Linked DNA regions of Homo sapiens: all the other regions are linked to region 2. The links are contacts of gene promoters, found by promoter capture Hi-C in human tissues and cell types (Jung and others, 2019). All regions are on one chromosome and are shown on one strand. The core of a region is centred on a gene start or on the middle of the fragment in contact, and the rest is flanking DNA. Distances in the headings are between cores, read along the strand shown. Region 1 overlaps KY (kyphoscoliosis peptidase). Region 2 holds the start of KY (kyphoscoliosis peptidase). Region 3 has its middle 62 kb from the start of KY.

Region 1 (2,859 bases), core at 43-2,542, 33 kb after region 2:
GGCAGGCCTGGGAGCGGGAGGACAGTGACTGCAGATGCCAAGGGGACTGTGAAAGGCTGTCCTCAGGGCTGACACAGGGAGCCTCTTTTGGGGGAAACAAAAGATCTCCCACCTGAAAAGATTTGTCAGTTGGACAGCTGAATCACTACGAAGCGGCTACTCTTGGAGTCGCTGGGCTCCATTTTCAGCACTCTGGGAGTGGGCATATGGCCAGGTTGCTGGGGTGGGTGACAGCTCTGGCCTGAGCAGGAGAACAGGCCATTGCCAGTTCCCAGTGACTCAAAACAGGCTCAAGATGTGGGGTGGGGGGAGGGGATGGCCACTGACCCCCACAGCTTCCTGAGCCTACCCTCTGAGGTCTGCTGGGTTCCTCCAGAAAACAGTCAGCTAGCCCTGGGGCCATCAAAGAACCCCTCCCCAGGGGGTGGATGAACAGCGGCCCACTGTCTTTCTAGGCTTCTGGGAGTGAGTCTTCTTAGGCACCCAGATGTCAGCCCACCAGAACTGCAGGTGGCAATTCATCAAACCAAGTGTAACACTTAGTCCACAGGCAGGCAGTTGTGATGGCCTCAGTGTTGCAGAGGCGGCAGCTGCCGAGCACTGGGTGCATGCAACCTATTCCTGGCCCAAACCCCCTGTTGTGCTGCCTCCTGCCCCCATCACCACTGCCAAGCACAGGCACCTACCCGGCTGCTGAGTTACTCTAAGCCTCCTGCTCTGCTTCCTGTACTTCCCTTTTCTCACTTTCAAGGCCAATCCCTGAGACCACAGCCCCAGACGCAGCCACGGTGGGTCAGGGTACAGAATATGCCACCCAGGCTGCTTCCCACCCCCTACCCCAGACCCAAGCATACCTCCTGCTGCCTGCAGGCCTCTCCAGGAACCTGGATCCTCACTGGCCTCTCTGTCCAGGCTTCCCTGGTCCTGGGTTCCTAACATCACTAAAGGATCACACTATCTAGCAAAGTCCTCCAAAATCTGACCTCAGCCAAGTTTCCAGCCCTGCACTGTGTGACACCACCTTCCTGACCACCTCTGCATGCACACCTGCTCCCTCTCCCCAGAGCTCCTTCCAGGCCCCGCTCCAGGACAGCCCACAACCTTCCCCTTCCTTTGTACCCCCAGCCCAGTTGCACACCAAACTCATGTGTTGCCTTATGCTTTCAATTAATAACATTTTTAAATTTAAAAAATACCATTCATTGTAGATGGTTTATAAAATGCACTAAAGCAAAAAAGAAATTATTACTCTGAATCTCACCACTTACAGCTAACACTGGTAACATTTGGTCATATTACTTTCCAGACTGTGTTCTGTGCATACAGGAATTACCTGTGCTCGGTTGTTGTCATACATCCTATCGATTGTATACGTCTATATTTGCCTTTATCTCCTCTCTCCTTCTACCTCCCCTGCGAATACCCATCTCAGAATCCTACACCCAGTAGGCCCTCAATAGACATATATAGAAATGACAGGATATTCCTAGCAGACTTATGTGGAATGGAATGTGGAATTCTCTTTTAACTGATGAAATAGCCACAAGTCTCTTAGCTCCATTTGTGCCTAGCATCTTTCAGAACATGATTATTTTCCTCTGATTTTACAAATTTGAAAAATGCTTAGCATTTTTTCCAAGTTCCAGGATATATTCCTCTTTATCCAGTATAAGCTTTCTAGCATACTGTAGAAGGAATGCCAGATTTGAAGCTAGAAAGACCTGGGTCTACCACTTAGAGTGGTATCGCCTCCTTGATCCAGTATAAGCATCCTAGCATCCTTTAGAAGGAGTGCCAAAGTTAAAGCCAGAAAGACCTGGCTCCCAGTTTTTAATTTACCACCTATTAGTTTTGTTCTTTGTGGTAAGGCCCTTAACCTCTTGCAGCCTCAGTGCTCTCATCTATATATTGGAGACTAGATTGCCTACCTGGCAGGGCTATAGGACTCAATGAGACTGCAGTTTGGGGGTTACCAACCCGATTTTGGGGTGGGTGTTTTTTGACCTATCTTGTCTTTCTTGAGTATTGATTGGAGTCCTTTTGCTCTGTGGAGTTTTCCTACAGACTCTGCCAGCCTACATAGATTCAGAAAATTGACACTTGCCTTGAGTGAAACTGTCAGCTTTTTGCCCTGGTCCAGATACTTAACAATGGCCCTATTCTGGCCTGCAGCTTATCATTAAAACTCTCCCTAACATTTTGCATCATTTAAAATTAGTTCCAACATGGTGATTACCATGTGCAAAATTCCTCACACTGCCTGAGATGTGTAGCAATAGCTCACGGTCCCCTGAATTCCTTTAACTGTTTCTTTAAAGATCAGTAACCTATCTATGCATCCCTCTACTAACTCTCTTTACCTTTAAAATAACTGCCAAAAGTTTGGTAAATTAATTAGCTAATTCCTTAATAACTGAGGACATATAATCCGCACTTGCTGATTTATCCCTTCTTGGTTGTCAGGGTGGACATCATTACTTTTTGCCAGTCCATTCCACCTCCCTGAAATTGTCTCATTAAAGACTGATTTAATAAAGTAATTTGGGGAGGAATTCAGATATTTTCACAACATCATTCAGTTCCTTCTGTCTGTCCCAAGTCACTGATGTGGGGTTTTTTGGTTAATGCTATAGCTTGTAACTGCTGGTCCAGTTTCCTTCTGACTTTCTATCATCCAACATTAATGTCTCTCTTTTTGCCTCAGTTGCCTGCATCCTTAGTTGATTCTGCCTAATTTCCTCGCAGGAGCCAAGCTTAATTCCCCAGACTGCTGCTCTTGAGTCGGCCTCCAGTAAATTCTCTTCCCGTTAGCATGGCTTTAGCATCACCAGCTAGCAGGTTTCAGAGACGTTGGATAAA
Region 2 (2,979 bases), core at 101-2,600:
TCAGAATCTCAGAGTGTGGCTGTGACATCTCTCCTGCTTCTCTGCTCCATCAGTCACTTGTCACTCCATCTTTCCCTTTCCTCACCCTTAAAATGAAGTAAGAATGACAGCTACCATATGAAGACCACTTTCTATACACCAGGCGCCTTACATTCATGCCATTCTCACAACAGCCATGTGAGAAATTTTTATCAACCCAGTGATAAGGGTGAGAAGGTGGAGGGAAAATGGCTGGTCCAAGGTCACACAGCCAGGAAGTGATGGAGCTGGTACTGGAATGCAGTCTGTGTGACACAGGCTGCTCCAAGGAGGATCTGGGAACTCTCAGGACCATGCTACAAGGTGGGGTCCATACACTCCAATGCGGGGAGGGCTCCCAGAGCAAAGGCCTCCATGTGGGGGTGCATTTATTAACAGTAGAAACTCGAATTAGGGGAACGCCCCCAGCAGGGTGGGCCCGTAGTGCCCAGGGGTACCAGGCAGAAGCCTATGTAAACACTCCTGAGACCTACAGCCAAACCCCTGCTGCTGTTGGCTGGGCAGGCCAGGCCGGGCTAAAAATAGAAGGCTTCTCAGGTCCAGCTCCCTGTGCCCCAGCCTCCTCCTCTCCCCCTCCCTCCTTCCCCACAGGGCAGGAGCCAGGCTTCTAGAACGAACCGAGACTTTAAGACTTTCGTTTCAGATCAAAGAGGATCGTTAGCTTGATACTCAATGGGCATGTTCCAAGTTCTACAGGGGCCGTAACTGGGGGGAGCTCCTGACTCCAACACCCCACCCAACTCCCTCCTAGGGAGAGAGAGCTGTCAACCTCCAAAACCAACCCAGGGAAGGAGTGAGGTCGAGGCCAAAACTTGGACAATCTCTGCACATCTTGCAATTCAATCTGGAGCCCCTTTGCTGTCTTTCCTTTTCCTGAATCTACTCTCAATGTTGACAGCACTGTGCGATTTCTGTATTTGCCAGGGGCTTCTCGTGGGAGGTCGGCTCCAGCCCTCTCGAGAACCCTCCGGAGACCGTGGGGATGAGGCAGCGCTCAGCCAGAGAAGCCCTGGAGCCCAGGACCAGCGCTTCAAGTGCACCGGGCGGGAGGCAGGGGCGCAGGGAGGGAGGCTCTGGACCGGCCGCCCCTGCTGACTATGGCCCCGGTGCAGGTCAAGGCTTGGGCCCGGGGATTTCCTTTCAAAGGTGACTTAGAGCCGCTTCATTAGGGTAGCGCCCTCCCAGGCGGGCCCTAATGGCGTGTTTGGCAGAGTCAGCGAAAAGCAGCGCCCTGCGGCTCCAGCGGCGGGGGAGCGCCCTCTTCCGCGCCCTCGCCCTCTCCCGTGTGGGGCAGCTGCGCGCACGGGGCCATTTGCAGCGCAAGCAGCCTAGCGTGCGGCCGCGGCGCCCAGGTCGGAAAGGAGGCGGCATCATGGAGCTGAAGAAGGACATCAACGCTGTATCTATCGACATGCTGCTGATCGTGCACTCGGAGAAGCGGCGCGCCGCACAGGGTACGCTCTCAGACCAGCAGGCGAACCCGAGCTCGCTGCTGCAGCGCGGAGGAGGTAACGCGCGCCCGACCCGGGTCCCCGGGTCCCCCGGCACCTTGGCCTCCTTGCCACAAGGGCCTGCCCGCCGGGGGGCGCCCATTGCTCCCCCGAACGAGGTCAGCGAACCCGACCCTCTCCCCCATGGCTGCCGTCGCTTCCCCGCAGTGGCACCGGCGTCCCGTGGCAACGCGCAGTCCCGTGGCAACGCGCAGCCCCGTGATTGCCCCAGTTTCACTCCCTGTGCAGGCCTGTGGGTGCTTCCGTCACCCCTGGGAGTCTTTTTCCTCCCAGCCACTCCCTAACGGGTGTAGAGCAAGATTGGAAGATACCCTGGAGGAAGGCGGCCAGAGCCTCAGGGCTGACTCATGGGTAGCAGAGGCCTGCTCCCCCCCACAGCACACTGCAGGGCACAGGGGACGCTGGGAAACCTTTGGGCTGAGTCAGACTTTTAGATGGGGAGCTCCCTGTGTGGCCTTGCACAATTTACAGCCTCAGTTTCTCCTTTCTTGAGACTTTCTCCCAGCCTCCTATAGATGGAAGGCATGAAAGGCGTAAAAGGAACGCAGGTTTGGATAGGGTAAGATTTGAAACCTGCTGTCTCCACTTGAACTTATCCATCAATTTTACTTGTCCTACACACTTTCTGGGTAAATTTGTAAGTTGTAGATTGGTAAAATAAAGTGACTGTTTATAGAGTGATTGTGGAAAGCAGGATCCGGGCCTCTCTGTTCTCCAGACGACAGAACACAATGTGAATGGAGTACAGAGGGATGATAATGGAGGTTAAATAAGCCCCTGAAAAGCCAGAGAACCTCAGGGTCCTGGATGGCAAGCTGTCTCCGAGGCTGGTGTGAGGATGCACTAGGCGGACTGCGGGCCAGTTCTTTAGGAGTTAGGCCTGACAGCCCATGCAGGAGAATGACTTCTGCCTCTCTCCTCCCCTCCAGCTCTGGAGCTCCTTGGAATTCCTGCTGCTGCTCTGCCCTTGGTTCTTCTGTCCCCAGAGCCTCTGTGCTCATTGAACATCCACCTTCCACCTGCCTTGCTTAAGTAATGCTGCTGTGGATGGCCTTGCCACTACCAGCCACATAGGCTGGAGCTGCCTCCAGAGCCCTGGGAACCTCTTGGGAAGGCAGGCAGGGGAAAGAAACAGAATCTAGAGGGCTGAGTATGTTGACAGGCGCTCTAGTCTCAGGGCTGATTCCTGACTGAAGCAGGAGTTGTTTGGATTCGTTGGCTCTTTAGTTATCAGACCTACTCTTGGGAGAAGGGGAAATGGCCTGCCCAGGGTATTTGTAGTTAGAAAGTCAACAGAGGGCATCAACTTCTTGATAGAAATGAGACTGCTCTGAATACATGTACCACAGTCCAGAATGCCTTCTCCAGTGTGTGGCGAGGCCTAGTTCCAGGTCAGCCCACGAGTCCCCTACTCCCAATCCTCTCTGAT
Region 3 (2,814 bases), core at 315-2,814, 62 kb after region 2:
ATTTTCTAATTGCTTATTTCTAATGAGTAGAAATAGAACTATTGTCATGCATTGACCTAGTATCCAATTATCTTACTAAATTTACTAATTAATTCTAATCATTTATAGGGAGGTCCTTTTGGATTTTCTACACACACAATCATGTTGCCTGTGAATAATTATTTTTTTCAACTTCTGTTTTAGGTTAAGGGGTATATGTACAGGTTTTTTATGTAGGTAAATTGAGTGTCATGGTGGTTTGGCAATGTACAGATTATTTTGTCGCCCAGGTGATAAGCATAGTACCCAATAGGTGTTTCGATCCTCACCCTCCTCCCACCCTCCATCCTCAAGTAGGCCCCAGTGTCTGTTGTTCCCTTCTTTGTGCTCAATCTTTAGCTCCCACATATAAGTGATAACATGTGATATTTGGTTTTCTGTTCCTATGTTAGTTCACTTAGGATAATAGCCTCCAGCTCCATCCATGTTTCTGAAAAGACATGATTTGATGCTTTTTTATGGCTTCATAGTATTCCATGGTGTATATGTACCACATTTTCTTTATTCAGTCTACCATTGATGAGTATTTAGGTTGATTCCATGCCTTTGCTATTGTGAATAGTGCTATAATGAACATACGCATGCATGTGTCTTTATGGTAGAAAAGTTAATATCCCTTTGGGGATATACCCAACAATGAGATTGCTGGGTCGAATGGTATTTCTGTTTTAAGTTCTTTGAGAAATCACCAAATTGCTTTCCATAATGGCTGAAATAATTTATATTCCCACCAGCAGTGTATAAGCATTCCCTTTCCTCCACACCCTTGCCAATATGTTTTTTTTTTGACATTTTAATAATAGCCATTCTGACTGGTATGAAGTGATGAATAAGTAATTTTTCTTCTCTGTCATTCTACCTTTTATTTCTTTTCCTGATCTGATTGTGCTGGGTAGAAGTTATGATGGTAGTAGGTATTATTTTCTTGTTCCCAATCTCAGGGAGAAAGTGCTCAATATTTCACTATTCCAGATGATGTTAAACAAAACTTGCATGCTTGGAATAAACTCAGCTTGGTCATAATAGATTATTCTTTTTATATATCACTTCTTATATATCATTTGATATGGTCATAATTTGTTTAGGGCTTTAACATCTATATTCATAAGAGAGTCTGTACTTGTCTTTTTTTGAAATGTCCTTGTCAGATTTGGTTTCAAGGTTATGCTGGTCTTATAAAATGAGAAGAGAATTATTTCCCCTTTTGTCATTCTCTGAAAGAGTTTGTTGTATAGGCTTACTTCTTCCTTAAATATTTGGAAACATTCACTGATGAAGCCATCTGAGCCTGATACTTTTGTTGTAGGAAGTTTTTCAATTAAGGATCAGTTTTAAAATTATTTATGACTCTTCAGATTTTCTAATTCTTCTTGTGTCCATTTTGTATGATGAGTTTTTAAAAGAATGTATCCATTGTGTTTAAATGTTTACAGCTGTTGGCAAGGAGTTATTGATGCCTTTTTGTTACTGTCTGTAAGATCTGCACTTGTTTGCTTTTTATTATTTTTATTCCTGATATTTGTAATTTGTATCTTTACATTTTTTTCTTGATAAGTCTAGTCAGAGGTTCAATCAATCTTATTAGCCTTTTTAAAGAACTAACTTTTGATTTTGTTGTTTTCTCTATTGAACATTCATTTTCTAATTCATTAATTGCTACTCCTTATGTCTTCCTTCCATTTTCTTGACGTTTAGTTTGCTCTTTCTTACCTTTTTAAAATAAGTATTTAGATCATTTACTTTCTCAATGCTTTTCTTTTTTAAAATATAAATTTAAAGCTACCAGTTTCCCAGCGAGCACAACTTCAATTGCACACCAAGAGTGTAGTCATTTCATGATCATTCAGTTCAAAATATTCTCTACTTTCAATTGTGATTTATTTCTTTCACCCAAGTGTATTTACAAGTGTATTGCCTAATTTCCGAACACTTAGATATTTTTTTTAAATACCATCTAAAATGTATTTCTAGTTTAATTCTACTCAGTCAAGGATTATATTATTTTATTCATTTGAATTTGTTGAGCATTTGTGTCTCAACATATGTTTAATATTAGTTTTATTTTCATTTATTTATTTATTTATTTTTGAGATAGAGTCTTGTTCTGTCACCCAGCCTGGAGTGCAGCCGCACTGTCTCAGCTCACTGCAACCTCTATCCCCCTCAAGTGATTCTCCTGCCTCAGCCTCCTGAGTAGCTGAGATTACAGGTACGTGCCACCACACCCAGCTGATTTCTGTATTTTTAGTAGAGACGGGGTTTTGCCATGTTGGTCAGGCTGGTCTCGAACTCCTGGCCTCAAATGATCGCCCACATTGGCCTCCCAAAGTGCTGGAATTACAGACGTCATCACCATGCTCAGCCAATATTAGTTTTACTTGTATTTGAAGAGGGACATATTCTGACATTTTGGGGTGGAATCTTCTTCATATGTCCATTAATTCAAGTTTGTTAGTCTTGTTTCTCAAATCTCTTACATCTTTACTTAGGTTTACTGAGAGAGATGTATTAAAAACATCCATTTCCTTTTTTTTTTTTTTATAGGGGGGTCCATTCCAAGATGGCCAAATAGGAACAGCTCCAGTCTGTAGCTCCCAGCGTGATCGATGGAGAAGACAGGTGATTTCTGCATTTCCAGGTGAGCTCCAAAGAGAGCAGTGGTTCTCCCAGCATGGTGTTTGAGCTCTGAGAACAGACAGACTGCCTCCTCAAGTGGGTTCCTGACCCCTGTGTAGCCTAACAGAGAGACACCTCCCAGTAGGGGCCGACAGACAC

The links. Contacts are between HindIII fragments. The study calls those that stand out against the background at their distance.
Region 1: a contact is called between a fragment that was not itself captured here and the fragment with the promoter of KY in region 2, in 1 of the 25 tissues and cell types used here (pancreas).
Region 3: a fragment that was not itself captured here is called in contact with the fragment with the promoter of KY in region 2 in 1 of the 25 tissues and cell types used here (stomach).

The regions. Positions count from the first base shown.
Region 1 is chr3:134,615,984-134,618,842 of GRCh38, reverse strand. The region is part of intron 8 of KY (kyphoscoliosis peptidase); the gene reads left to right. It also overlaps a transcript of CEP63 not described here. Among named protein-coding and RNA genes, the nearest start is that of KY, 34 kb to the left of the region's middle. The HindIII fragment of the contact is 6,070 bases long and covers 1-2,859 here.
Region 2 is chr3:134,649,393-134,652,371 of GRCh38, reverse strand. KY (kyphoscoliosis peptidase) reads left to right here and starts at 1,350. Exons shown (of 11, transcript NM_178554.6): 1 at 1,350-1,547. The coding sequence starts at 1,412. It also overlaps a transcript of CEP63 not described here. The HindIII fragment of the contact is 13,352 bases long and covers 1-2,979 here.
Region 3 is chr3:134,587,602-134,590,415 of GRCh38, reverse strand. It overlaps a transcript of CEP63 not described here. Among named protein-coding and RNA genes, the nearest start is that of KY, 62 kb to the left of the region's middle. The HindIII fragment of the contact is 3,681 bases long and covers 1-2,814 here.